2 separate regions of the Homo sapiens genome follow, and region 2 is linked to region 1. The links are contacts of gene promoters, found by promoter capture Hi-C in human tissues and cell types (Jung and others, 2019). All regions are on one chromosome and are shown on one strand. The core of a region is centred on a gene start or on the middle of the fragment in contact, and the rest is flanking DNA. Distances in the headings are between cores, read along the strand shown.

Region 1 (7,220 bases), core at 3,856-6,355:
CAGTGTGACCGCGCGCCTGGTGAGCGCGCCCCCGGGCCCGCCGCAGCCCCCCGCCCCGGCCCCGCCGCCGCCGCCTCCTCCGCTGACGCTACTGCCGCCGCCGCCACTGCGTCCACCGCCCGCTCCCGCATTCGGCCGCTCAGGGTCCTCGGCCTCCGCTTCGTCCTCGTCCTCCTCCGGCGCCTCCTCGCCCGCACCGCCCGCCGGGGACAGCGGCTCCGGAGCTGCGGACAGCGAGAGGCTGCAGGGAGGCCGCTCGCCCCACGGCTCTGCAGCCCCGCGCCCCTGCAGCCCCGCGCCCCGCGCCTCCGCCCCGCTGGGCCCGCCGTACCTGCCATGGCCGCGCCTCCCCGCGCCCGGAGCTCTAGACTCCGGCTTCCCGGCACGTCACGCGGCCCCGCCCCGGGGAGGGGAGGGGCGCCCCAACCATTGGCCGTCGCCGGGGTCGGGGGAAGGGCTCGGCGCGCTGGGGTGGGCGGAGAAACTGAGGCCTCGGGGATGCCCACGCGGGAGAGAGATCGGGAACTCAGCCCTCTGGGAACATTCGGGAAACTGAGGCGTGACGGGGTGTTGACCGGGAGCTCATTGGTGCGAATGGGGAAACTGAGGCCTCGCTGTCCAGGGATAGAGGTTGCAAGGTGGAAGCCTGGGGCGGGTGCGCGAGTGGCTCAGCCTGCTGCAAGGAGAGGAGAAGGTGAGACCTGCGGTCACCGCACTTGAGGAACTCAGAGGCCTCGGCCTTTAGGACCAGGGGAGAAACTCAGGTCCAGGGGAACAATGCGGACTCCAATAGGGAACAGCCTCGCGCAGACACAGGTGGAGCCAAAGAGCCCAAGCCGGCCTCAGTCGCTAAAGAATTAACTCCCACCCTCCCGGGCGGCCCTCGACTGATTCCATGATTGGACCGTTGCGGAGCCCGCCAGCCAATGATAAGAGTCCCATTTATTTCACCCTCAACCAATCGATAGCAAGCTACTGGATTCCCGCACCAACCAATCCGTGTCAACTATCTGATTACACCAACTCGGATTTGACCAATGGGCAGACGTCCATGTAAACCAATCAGTAGAAACCCTTAGTTATGAGCGCAAACCATCAGAGGCAGGGACTGGACTCACCAGCCAATCAGCTCCGGGTATAAGGCCAGCCGAGTCCGGCCCTCCATACCCTTGGGCGGAGCAGGAGGCAGGGCCGGGCTCGTTGCGCGCCTGATCAGTGCAGCCCCGGCCTTTGTCCCCTACCCTGTTTCTGCAACTACATCCCCGACCCTGTCCTGGGACCTTCGTCCCGGAGCCCAGGCTCTGGGATTTCCCTCAGTCCCTGGCAGGGTTGAAAGTCCGGGATGGGGACTTCCTAAAGCTCCGGGACGCCGTGGGATGGGCTCAAGTGCGGGTGGCTTTGCCCAGACCGCAGTCGGGAAGTGGGAACTGGACAGTAGGGGTGCGGGGGAGGCTCTCCAGGGTGCTCGGGAATGTTCTCAGGAAGAAGACTTGACATAGAGCAAGAGCTGGGTACATGTGAACTATTGTTGTCCAGCCCAGGCACCCTTTAGGGGCCCCACCCTGACTGTCCAGCCAACAACGGGCATCCCCAAGGCCTGCAGACTCAGCATAGCCCAAACCGGCCTCAGTTTATTTCCCCAACTCCTTACGCACTTTCTCTTTGGCTTTTTTTCCGTCCCCTGCCTTCCAAAACCCTGAGCCACACCTCCAGCCTCTTGCACCCAAATCCTGGCCATCGCAGTGAGTCTCAGGCCTCCAAACTCATGCCCCACCCTGTCGGTCTTCCACCATTGCCCCAGAGGGCTCTTTCTAAAATGCACCTATTACCACCTCCCTCCCATATTATTATTTTGTTTTCTTTTCTTTTCTTTTTTCTTTTTTTTTTTTTTTTTTTTTTTTTTTTTTTGAGACGGAGTCTCGCTCTGTCACCCAGGCCGGAGTGTAGTGGCAAGATCTTGGCTCGCTACAACCTCTGCCTACCAGGTTCAAGCGATTCTCCTGCCTCAGCCTCCCAATTAGCTGGGACTGCAGATGCACATCACCACACCCAGCTAATTTTTGTATTTTTAGTAGAGAAGGGGTTTCACCATGTTTGCCAGGCTGGTCTCGAACTCCCAACCTCAGGTGATCCACCTGCCTCAGCCTCCCAAAGTGCTGGGATTACAGGTGTGAGCCACTGCGCCCAGCCTATTTTCTTTTCTTTTCGAGACAGGGCCTTGCTCTATCTCCCAGGCTGGAGTGCATTGGTGTAATCATGGCTCACTGCAGCCTTGGCCTCCTGGACTCAAATGATCCTCTTGCCTCAGCCTCCAGAGTAGCTGAGACAACAGGCGTGACCAGCATGCCTGGCTAATTTTTAATTTTCTTGTAAAAGAAGGGGATCTCACTATGTTGCCCATGCTGGTCTCCAAGTCCTGGCCTTAAGCAATCTTCCCACTTGGGCTCCCAAAGTGTTTGGATTACAGGCGTGAGCCACCGCACCCTGCCCTCCTCTCATGCTGTAAATCCTTCTGTCGCTCCACATTGCCTTAGACAAATACAATAAAAACTAACCACCCTGGCTGGGCACAGTGGCTCACGCCTGTAATCCCAGCACTTTGGGATCACTTGAGGTCAGAAGCTGAAGACCAGCCTGACCAACATGGTGAAACCCCATCTCTAATAAAAACAAAAAAATTAGCCGGGGGTGGTGGCAGGCACCTGTAATCCCAGCTACTCCAGAGGCTGAGGCAGGAAAATCGCTTGAACCCGGGAGGCGGAGGTTGCAGTGAGCCGAAATCATGCCACTGCACTCCAGCCTGGGCAAAAGGAGCAAAACCCTGTCTGAAAAAACAAACAAACAAAAAAACGAAACAAAAATCAACTCTCTGACCTTACTTAGTATAGCTGATACTATCAACTTTATCAGACAGTTCAGTGGATGAACACATTGCCACAGTCCCACGGCCTTTCTGTGATTTCTAGAACACCTGTTCTGCTATGTATACAAAGTCTAGCCCTGGTAACTACTAAGGAAATTGAATTTGTAATTTAAAAACTCCCAAAAAAGCAATCTCCAGACCCAGATGGTTTCACTAAGGAATTCTGCCAAAGGTTCAAAGAAGAATTAACACCAATTTCACATCATCTCTTCCAGAAAATTGAAGGGGACACTTCCCTGTTCATTTTATGGAACTATGACCCTGATACCAAAACCAGATAAAGACGGTACAAAGAAAGCAAGCTACACCCCATATCCCTCATGAAGACGTGCAAAAATCCTTAACAAAATATTACAAAGTAGAATTTAACAATATATAAAGTGAATTATACACCATGACAAGTGGGGTTTACTCCAGGGACCCAAGACTGATTCAGTATTCAAAATTAATCAATTGTCCACCATATTAAACAGGCTGTGGTAGGCAGAATAATGGTCTCTTAAAGATATCCACGCCCTAATTCCCAGAATCTGTGAATACGTTAGGATACGTGGCAAAGGGATTTGAAGATTAAAGATAGACGCCAGGCACAGTGGCACACACCTGTAACCCCAGCACTTTGGGAGGCCTAGACTGGAGGATCACTTGCACCCAGGAGTTCAAGACTAGCCTGAGGGCCGGGCACGGTGGCTTATGCCTGTAATCCCAGCACTTTGGGAGGTCGAGGCAGGTGGATCACAAGGTCAGGAGATTAAGACCATCCTGGCTAACACAGTGAAACTCCATCTCTACTAAAATAAAAATACAAACAAATTAGCTGGGCATGGTGGCACGTGCCTATAATCCCAGCTACTCGGGAGGCTGAGGCAGGAGAATTGCTTGAACCTGGGAGGCAGAGGTTGCAGTAAGCCGAGATCGCTCCACTGCACTCCAGCCTGGGTGACAGAGTAAGACTCTGTCTCAAAAAAAAAAAAAAAAAAAGACCAGCCTGGGCAACATAGCAAGAACCTGTCTCTAGTAAGTGTAAAAATTAGCTGGGCGTGGTGGCAGGCACCTGTAATCCCAGCTACTTGGGAGGCTGAGCCAGGCGAATGGCATGAACCTGGGAGGCGGAGCTTGCAGTGAGCCGAGATCACGCCACTGCACTCCAGCCTGGGCTACAGAGCGAGAGTCTGTCTCAAAAAAAAGAAAAAAAAAAATTAGCCAGGTGTGGTGGCATGCAACTGTAGTACCACCTACTCTGGAGGCTGAGGCTGGAGGATCACTTGAGCCTGTAAGGTCGAGGCTACAGTGAGTCATGATCGCCCCACTGTACTCCAGCCTAGGCAACATAGTGAGAACTCATCCTTAAAAAAGGAAAATAAATTAGCTGGGTGTGGTGGTGCCCACCTATAGTCCCAGCTCTTCGGGTGGCTGAGGCAGGAGGACCGCTTGAGATTGGGAGGTCAGGGCTGCAGTGAACTATGATCGTGCCACTGCACTCCAGCATCGACAACAGAATGAGACACCGTCTAAAAAAGAAAAATTGCAGATGAAATTAAAGTTGCTAGTCAGCTGACTTTAAAATAGGGAGAGTAGCGTGGATTATCCAGGTGGGCCCAATGTAATCATTAGGGTCCATCAAAGTAAGAGAAAGGGCCAGGTGTGGTGGCTCATGCCTGTAATCTCAGCACTTTGGGAGGCTGAGGCGGGCAGAAAACTTGGGGTCAGGAGTTCGAGACCAGCCTGGGCCAACATGGGGAAACCTCGTCTCTACTACAAATACAAAAATTAGCCAGGCGTGGTGGCGGTCACCTGCAATCCACGCTAGTCAGGAGACTGAGCTTGGACTCAGTCTCTGAACCCGGGAGGCAGCGCAGTCTCTTGAACCCGGGAGGCAGAGGTCGCAGTGAGCCAAGATCATACCACTTTACTCCAGCCTGGGCAACAGAGTGAAACTCTGTCTCAAAATAGGAAAAATAGATAAATAAATAAATAAAGAGACAGACCATGTCTCTGTCTTTGCAGATATAGCGAAGATTATTCTCCCATTCAAGTAGACTTATACATTCTCTCTGTTCTCAGTTCCACACCGGAGAGGCGGGGATTTCCCTAGGATCACTGGACCTGCTGGGATCAGCCTCTGCCCAGCCCTGGCAGGGGAGGGAGTTGACGGGCTGACACAGGAAACTCCCCTGAAACCTGTTTCTCAGCTTCCCGGCCCAGCTGGGGCACCCACTGGAAGGAGAGGCCAGGCGGAAGACCCTGGCTCCGTCATGGCCTCTGCCCTGAGGCCACCCCGTGTCCCCAAGCCTAAGGGTGTCCTGCCTTCACACTACTATGAGAGCTTTCTAGAGAAGAAGGGGCCCTGTGACCGGGTAAGGTGGGGAGGCGGGGGCTGGCCCTGCTGGGCCACCGTGGGGAGCTGCGGCACCTCTCTGAGTCCCTGTCTCCCCACTCGCCAAGGGGGGGCGGGGTGGGTGCTGGATGGGGCAGGACACGTGCTGGGGGACTGGGGTGGGTTCTGGCCATCTGCCTCTCTGTGCGTCTATCTCTGTCTCCGTGTGTCTTTGAATTTGGTTTCTTTTTCTCTTTCTCTCTCCCTGGCCCCGTCTGTCTCTCCCGATGTCTGTCTCAGTCTCCCTCTCTCTTTGTCTCAATCTTTGCTTTTGTCTCTCGTTCACTCTCTTGAATACAAACAAGATCAGGGACTTCCTCCAGGAAATGGGGAGTCCTCTGACTCCCGAGCTTCCTCCCGCTCCCAGCCCAGGAAAAACTCCGTGAACCTCAGCTGCTGGGGCGAAGGCCAGGACAGGTGACATGTGAGGACAGTAAGAGCTAGCGGGGGCCACATTCCACAGGACAGATAGTTGCCATGGACAGTGCGTGCATGTGTGTGTGTGTGTGTGCTTATGTCTCCCTCAGAATAAAGTCCCAGCCCCTCCGTTCCCCGTGAGGCCCTATCTCTCCTTCCCAATGCCGCATATTCATTTTCTTTCTTTCTTTTTGTTAGAGACAGAGTTGCTCTGTCACCCAGGCTAGAGTGCAGGGGCACGATCATGGCTCACTGTAGCCTCAAACTCCTGGGCTCAAGTGAACCTCCCGCCCCAGCCTCCTGAGTAGCTGGGACCACAGGCATGCACTGCCTCTTCTGGCTTTTATTTTATTTATTTATTTTTGAGACTGAGTCTCACTCTGTCACCCAGGCTGCAGTGCAGTGGCACCATCTCGGCTCACTGCAACCTCCACCTCCCAGGTTCAAACGATTAAGCGATTCTCGTGCCTCAGCCTCCCGAGTAGCTGGGATTACAGGTACGCACCACCACACCTAATTTTTGTATTTTTAGTAAAGACAGTGTTTCATTTTGTTGGCCCGGCTGGTCTTGAACTCTTGACCTCAGGTGATCCACCTGTCTCGGCCTCTCTAAATGCTGGGATTACAGGCATGAGCCACCGCACCCAGCCTTTTTTTTTTTTTTTTGAAGATGGGGTCTTGCTGGCCAGGCGCAGTGGGTCACACCTGTAATCCCAGCACTTAGGGAGGCTGAGGCAGGTGGATCACCTGAAGTCAGGAGTTTGAGACCAGCCTGGCCAATATGGTGAAACCCCGTCTCTACTAAAAATACAAAGATTAGCCGGGCGTGGTGGTGCGTGCCTGTGATCCCAGCTACTCTGGAGGCTGAGGCAGGAGAATCACTTGAACCTGGGAGGCAGAGGTTGCAGTGAGCCAAGATCGTGCCACTGCACTCCAGCCTGGGCAACAGAGCAAGACTCCGTCTCAAAAAAAAAAAAAAGATGGGGTCTTGCTATGTTGCCCAGGCTGGTCTCAAACTCCTGGCCTTAAGTGATCCTCCTGTCTCAGCCTCCCAAACTGCTGGGATTAGAGGTGTGAGCCACCATGACTGCCTCATTTTCTAATACAGATCAAAACAAACACCCCCAGCTCCTCCCTGCCCATGTCCCCGCCTCTGCCCCTGAGGTTCCCTTACCTGTAGTGGAGTAGACTTTCCTTCTACCTCCATACATCCAAATCCTCCCCAACCAACAAACCCTTTAGAGCCAGTAGATCACTGCAGTTAAGAAAGATAATGGGGGAGGCCGGGCTTGTGGCTCACGCCTGTAATCCCAGCACTTTGGGAGGCCGAGGCAGGCGGATCACCTGAGGTCAGGAGTTCAAGACCAACCTGGCCAATATGGTGAAACCTCGTCTCTACTAAAAAATACAAAAATTAGCTGGGTATGGTGCCAGGCGCCTTAATCCCAGCTACTTGGGAGGCAGAGGCAGGAGAATCATTTGAGCCTGAGAGGCGAAGTTTGC
Region 2 (6,821 bases), core at 3,070-5,569, 300 kb before region 1:
GCCTCCCAAATAGCTGGGATTACAGGCACCTGCCACCATGCCTGGCTAAGTTTTGTATTTTTAGTAGAGATGGGGTTTTGCCATGTTGGCCAGGCTGGTCTCCTCCTGGGCTCAAGCGATCCTCCTGCTTCGGCCTCCCAGAATGCTAGGATTACAGGCATGAGCCGCCATACTTCGCCAGTGTCCATTTTAGTTATGGCAAAAGAGAGAGGGGAATCTGTTGGCCCAAGTTGGGGGTGACATCAGTTGTTCTCAAACTGGGTTCCCCAGCACCCTCAGGACCACCCCATGGATGGGCAGGGGCCAGCTGCCTGCTGGGTTGTGGCGGGGAGCCTGGACACTTTCCACTGTGGCCAGATTTCCACTGGAGAAAGGGTTCGAGGGCCAAACATGAATTATCAGCTACCCACAGCCCATGACTCTGCAGAGGAGGGGACAGGCTTGCCTCAGCCCAAGCAATAAATTATTAGAGTGCAGAGAAGCCTAGGATCACCTGGCAGGAGGTGCATCCAGCCCCTAAATGTGTCCCAATGCAACCCACTTTTTTTTTTTTTTTGAGACAGAGTCTCACTCTGTTGCCCAGGCTGGAGTGCAGCGGCGTGATCTCGGCTCACTGCAACCTCCGCCTCCTGGGTTCAGGTGATTCTCCTGCCTCAGCTTCCTGAGTAGCTGGTATTACAGACACGTGCCACCATGCCTGGGTAATTTTTGTATTTTTAGTAGAGATGGGGTTTCACCATGTTGGTCAGGCTGGTCTCCAACTCCTGACCTCAGGTGATCCACTTGCCTCAGCCTCCCAAAGTGCTGGGATTACATGAGCCACCCTGCCTGGCCTAACGCAACCCACTTCTTATCTCCCCCACAGCCTCCATCCTGGTCCCCTCGTCCCTCAGCACCATCTATCCCCATGCCCCCCGTCTGTCCTCCCTGTAGCAGCCAATGGGTGCCTGTGAGTACCTGAGTCAGGTTCCATCCTTCCCCTGCCCACCACCCTCCATGGCTCCCACCTCCCTTGGGGTCAAAGCCAAGTATTCCTGGCAGCCCATAAGATCCTGCGCACCCTGCCCTGTCCCCTCCCTGCCCTCCCCTCCTCCCTCTCTCCTCCTCCTCACTGCTCCAGCCCCACGGGCCTCCTTGCTGCTCCTCTACCATGCCAGGCGCCATCTTGCCCCAGGGCCTTTACACAACCTGTGCCCTCTGCCTGAGCTGCTCTTCTCCCAGGTCTCCACATGGCTGTTTCCTTCTTGTCATCCAGGTCTGGGTTTACATGGCCCCTCCTCAGGAAGCCCTCCCAGATCCCCCATCTATTTTATTTATTTTATGTGTATATTTTTAATTTTTTTTTTTTTTTTGAGATGGAGTCTCACACTCTGTCAACCCAGGCTGGAGAGCAGTGGTGCAATCTCGGCTCACTGCAACCTCTGCCTCTTGGGTTTAAGTGTTTCTCCTGCCTCAGCCTCCTGAGTAGCTGGATTACAGGCACCCACCACCACGCCCGCCTCATTTTTGTATTTTTAGTAGAGACAGGGTTTTGCCCTCTTGGCCAGGCTGGTCTCGAATTCCTGACCTCAGGTGATCCGGCCACCTCAGCCTCCCAAAGTGCTGGGATTACAGGCGTGAGCCACGGCGCCCAGCCAATTCTCTTCTTTTTCTTTGAGACAGGGTTTCACTCCTGTCGCCCAGGCTGAAGTGCAGTGGCATGAGCTCGGCTCACTGCAGCCTCAACCTCCCTGGGCTCAGGTGATCCTCCCACCTCAGCCTCCAGAGTGGCTGGGACTACAGGCCTGCGACACCACACCTGGCTAATTTTTTTTTCTTTGTTTTAAGTAGAGACAGGGTTTCACCATGTTGCCCAGGCTGGGAAATTCTCTAGATGGACCTGCAAGTTTTTGGTTATAAGGAAACTGAGTCACAGAGGGTCAGGAGCTTGCCTGTTTATAAAGCAGTGATGTGGCAGAATCAGAATTTGAACCCAGCCTTTAACCTAGTGCAATCCTTTCCTCATCCTAGTCAATGGCACATTTGGGGTTCAAGTCTCGTCTCTCCCAGAGCCCACCCCAGAGGGGAAGGATCGAAGCCTTAGGAAGCTTCTAGAAGTACTGTGTCCTGTAATCCCCTCCTCGGGCTTTTAACAATATCTTGTTGAATCTCCCCCACCCCTCAAAGCACCCTCCCTCCCCACAGTTATCTCAGCCCCACAAGAAAAAGGAGATGACCAGCCCCATTGGACAGATGGGGAAACTGAGGCCTAGAAGCTGGGGATTTACAAGATCCCAAGAACTCTGCCAGAGGTCCCTGCGTCAAAGCTCGAGCGGGTGTGATTCCAGGGAGGTCATCTGCTGAGGGGTGTCGGGAGATGCTGGGAAGGGGCAGGCATGCTGTGGAACTGGGCCGTTCCTGCCTCTCGCTCTGCCTCCTTGCCCTGCTCCCCGTCTGTAACACCTGAGCTGTACCTGGGCAAGTGTGAGTCATTTTTTAGCGTTGACGTCTCTCTGGGAGGAGTGTTCCCCTGTCAACGGCTGGAGTTTTGTCCTCAAGGCACCCTTTCGTGGCCCCATTGGACAGACAGGGACACTGAGGCCTCCGGAACCCACCATACTGAATTGTCAAGCAATCAAAAGACCCCTCACCCACCTGGGCTGACCCCTGGGGGAACGGGGATGAGGAAACTGAGGCTCTGGGGGCACCTGACCGTCGGTCCAAGGCCACACAGTGGGAGGGGCCGTACCGCGGGGCCTCAGACCTGCACCCGTCTGCAGAGCCACCCCACCATTGGAGCAGGGTTCAAGTCCCCCCCCCGGCCCCATATTCCCTGCAGGGGTCCAGGCACTCACCCACCACCTGTATCCCAGGCTGCTCCAGCCTCTGGCCAGTGCCCGATTCACCCAGGTGTTTGTGTGGCTGGAGACAGCCCTTTGTTCACGGTTTCCATAGGTACAGCGTCCCTGAGCGGCCCCTCCTCTGCCCCTCCCAGCCCTTGCCTGTGCAGGTCCTGGGTCCGGCCCATCCAGGGAGCTTGTTATGTTTCAAAGTTGGCGCCCTCGGACCTGCCGTAGTGGCAGAGGGCACAGCCCATGCAAAGGCCCTGAGAGAGGACCTCGCCTGGGGTGTTGGAGAAACAGGAGGAGGCCAGTGTGACTGGGGCAGAGCCACAGCGAGAGTCAGGCAGGTTATGAGCAGGGCCTGTATTCCTGCATCTGATCCCCCAGCAGCCCTCAACTTGGGGAGTTACGACCCACTCCTGTTTTACAGATGAGGAAACTGAGGCTCCGCAGAATTGAAAAACTGGTTCAAGATATCATGCGGGTGGCAGAGCTCAAACCTAGATTGGTCCAAGCTCCGCCACCACTGGGCTGGCCCCCCTGGGGCCTCCCAAGGCGTTCATCGCCTCCAGCTGAGCTGGGACTGGCTCAGGAAATAAACTCTGGCGGCCTGTTTACACCTGGGGCTGCTCCTCCACCAGCCCTTCCCCCCTCCATAGAGAAGGTGCTGGGAAATGTGAGGATGCAGAGAAAACAGATTCTGTCCTGCCTCTGTCCCCACTTCCCTGGACAAACATTGGAAGCATTGGCCTCTTTCTAGGCCTTAGTTTCCCATCCCAGGAAATGGGCCTAGTTCGACTTCACAGAAAAGGCCAGGAGGCGGCAGGTGTCCTTCAGATCACCTGCCAATTACCTTAGCAGCGACGGTCCCAGTTCACAGCTGGCAAAACTGAGGCCAAGTCCCCACAGGCCACTTGGGAGCTCATTAGGGGCCAGTCTGGGTGGGCCCGGGCTGGCCTAGGCCTGGCTCCCCGCCACCGATGCCTGGACCGATGCCTGGTTTAGCTAGAAGCTACAGTCATGCCCACCTCCGCACGGCTGGCCCAGCTGCCCACCGCCTGGAATGCCCTCAGGGTTCTGGAATCTGGCCTGAGCACCTGCGGCCCTACAGTTAAAGGGGGCAGAGTCCACTAGAGTCCACATGGGGGATGGGGGTGCTGGTCCCAGAGCAGAGCCCCACGCCAAGGGGGGCAATTGAGACTCAATCTGTCTCCCCCTAACCTATACAGCGAGAGTGACAGAGAGACAGACGGAAACTGAGGCAGGAATGTAGACGGACAGGCGGTGGGGTGCAGAAGCATTAAGGGGCGGGAGAGACAGAGGGCGGCCAGGTGGCCCCCGAGATGCGCTGAAATGGGGGGCGCCCCGGCACTGCTCGCTCACCTACTCTCGAAGCAGAGTCCGTACGTCCAACCGTCGGGGGTCCGTCCAGCCGCCTCCGTGGGCCGGGGCCGTTGCCGCGGCGGTGGGAGCAGCGCCGGAGCCGGGGCCGGGGCCGGGGCGGGGCGGGCAGCGCGGCCCCGCCCTCCACTCGCCTCGCCCCTCGGCAGGCCACGCCCTCCACTCGCCCCGCCCGCGCGGAAGGGACCGGAGAGTTGCCAGGCCTGGGGGGCGGGCCGAGCGCTCCGGATTAGCCAATGACAGGGCGGGCAATGTACGAAAAGGCCAATGGGAGCAGGGCACTGCGACGGGGGGGAAGTGGGGGGAAGGGGCGGAGCCTGGGGGCGGGGTCAGGCGGCTCTGGGGGATTCCTCCGGAATCGCGAAGGGGCCCGGATGCGGGGGCGAGGCCGTCGTGGGGGTGCCGGCCACAGAAAAGGGAAGAGATAAGAGTACGAGACAGACAGAGAACCTGGGGAGGGAGGCACAGAGACACCAACAGGAAGAGACCAGAGAGCCAAAAGGCAAAACAGACCAACCACGTGGTTCTGCACGGGCCCCTTCCTCCTTCTGGGGCTAGTTTACCCGCCTGGGTAATAGGAATTTCGGCAGAAGCGTGTTTCTCAAAGTACGGCCTCGGGGAACCCTTCGCGTCAGAAAGATCTGAGAGTCCATTTTAAAATGCAGATTCCAACTAGGTGTGGTGCCTCACGCCTGGAATCCCAGCACTTTGGGAGGCCAAGGCAGGAGGATCCCTTGAGCCCAGGAGTTTGAAACCAGCCTGGGCAACCTAGGGAGACCCTGTCTCTACAAAAAAAAAAAAAAAAAGAAAGAAAGAAAAAGAAGAAGATCAAAATAAGTTAAAATTTTAAAAATACAGAGTTCTGTGCCACAAGAAGGGATGAATCTAACCCAGGGTTGTGGGGCTATAGATGAATCTTTGGGGTGAGGTGGAGGGCTCCTGGAGACCTCATCAGAGGATCCCCAGGTCCAGCCTCGATTTCCGTAGGAATGAGCCTGCAGGACACACAGGAGCCTCCCGGCTGCGCAGCGCCAGCTGGGGTCCCCCGGGGAGGATGCAGCTGTGAGTCCTGGGAACCAGGCCCTGGAGCTGCTCCCAGGTCCCCTGCAGCACCATTTCCGCCCTGCAGCCCAACTCTGGGTCCCGGTTGCAGCTAGGGCCTAGGGAGCCCATAGCAACCTCGCTGCTTCTTCCTCCAGGAAGCCAGACAACAAATTGTTGAGGGCCTGTTGTGTGTCCTGACCTGCACACGGGATTCAGGAAGACCGAGGCACAGGCCTCAGGAGGCAAAAGTAAGTTAAATATCTCATTGGCTGGGCCCGGTGGCTCACCCCTGTAATCCCAGCACTTTGGGAGGCCGAGGTGGGCGGATCACCTGAGGTCAGGAGTTTGAGACCAGCCTGGACAACATCGTGGAACCCCGTCTCTACTAAAAATACAAAAATTAGCCGGGTGTGGTGGCACATGCCTGTAATCCCAGCTACTCAGGAGGCTGAGGCAGGGGAATCGCTTGAACTCTGGAGGCAGAGGTTGCAGTGAGCCAAGATCGGGCCACTGCACTCCAGCCGGGGCGACAGAGCAAAATTCCATCTCAAAAAATAAAACATACAAAAAAAAAAAATTAGCTGGTCGTGGTGGTGCACGCCTGTAGTCCCAGCTACTCGGGAGGCTGAGGTGCTAGAATTGCTTGAACCCCAGAGGCAGAGATTGCAGTGAGCCGAGATCGCGGCACTGCACTCCAGCCTGGGCTACAAAGCAAGAGTCCATCTCAAAAAATAAAAAATAAAGCAAAAATATGAAAAAATTAGCCAGGAGTGGTGGTGCACGCCTGTAGTCCCAGCTACTTGGGAGACTAAGGCACGAGAATCACTTGAACCCAGGAGGCAGAGGTTGCAGTGAGCCGAGATCGCGCCACTGCACTCCAGCCTGGACGACAGAGCGAGACTCTGTTTCAAGAAACAAAACAAAACACCTTCTTATTTCATTTTGGAGGAGGAGACTGAGGCCCAGAGAGAGGAAGTAACTTGCCTGAGGTCACACAGGCACAAGGTGGTAGAGTCAGGAGTGACTGTCCCATTTCACAGATGACGAAATGGAACCCCAGAGGGAGGAAGGGATAGGTTCCAGGCCACACAGCCAGATGAGGCAGAGATGGGATTAGGACCTGATTAGGTCTGACTTTGGTGTGGTGTGTACAGCTCCTCTCGCAACCCCAGCATCAAGGGGGTCTCCCCATCAGGGCAGGAGGACTGGAGGCATCTGAGCCTAGCATGATTTCACCTTTTTTCTTTCTTTCTTTTTTTTTAGACAGGGTCTCGATTTGTCACCCAGGCTGGAATGCAGTGGTGCAGTCACAGCTTACTGCAGTCTCAACTTCCTGGGTTCAAGCAATCCTTCTGCCTCAGCCTCCCAAGTAGCTGAAATCACAGGTGTGCACCACCAAGCTCGGCTAATTTTTATTTTTTTAAATAGAGATAGGGGGTGTCTCACTATGTTGCCCAGGCTGGTCTCGAACTCCTAGCCTCAAGCGATCCTCCTGCTTCTGCCTCCCAAAGCGCTGGGATTACAGGCAAGAACCACCACACCTGGTCTCTTTTC

What was found. Contacts are between HindIII fragments. The study calls those that stand out against the background at their distance.
Region 2: a contact is called between the fragment with the promoter of TNFAIP8L1 here and the fragment with the promoter of STAP2 in region 1, in 1 of the 25 tissues and cell types used here (spleen).

The regions. Positions count from the first base shown.
Region 1 is chr19:4,336,712-4,343,931 of GRCh38, reverse strand. It overlaps STAP2 (signal transducing adaptor family member 2), which reads left to right and starts at 5,105. Exons shown (of 13, transcript NM_001013841.2): 1 at 5,105-5,280. The coding sequence starts at 5,179. It overlaps MPND (MPN domain containing), which reads right to left and starts at 370. Exons shown (of 13, transcript NM_001300862.2): 1 at 332-370; 2 at 1-224. The coding sequence starts at 338. RefSeq lists a silencer at 229-518 and enhancers at 587-1,318, 1,339-1,458. The HindIII fragment of the contact is 19,957 bases long and covers 1-7,220 here.
Region 2 is chr19:4,637,014-4,643,834 of GRCh38, reverse strand. TNFAIP8L1 (TNF alpha induced protein 8 like 1) reads right to left here and starts at 4,319. Exons shown (of 2, transcript NM_152362.3): 1 at 4,206-4,319. RefSeq lists an enhancer at 3,319-4,318 and silencers at 4,219-4,658, 4,719-4,798. The HindIII fragment of the contact is 40,660 bases long and covers 1-6,821 here.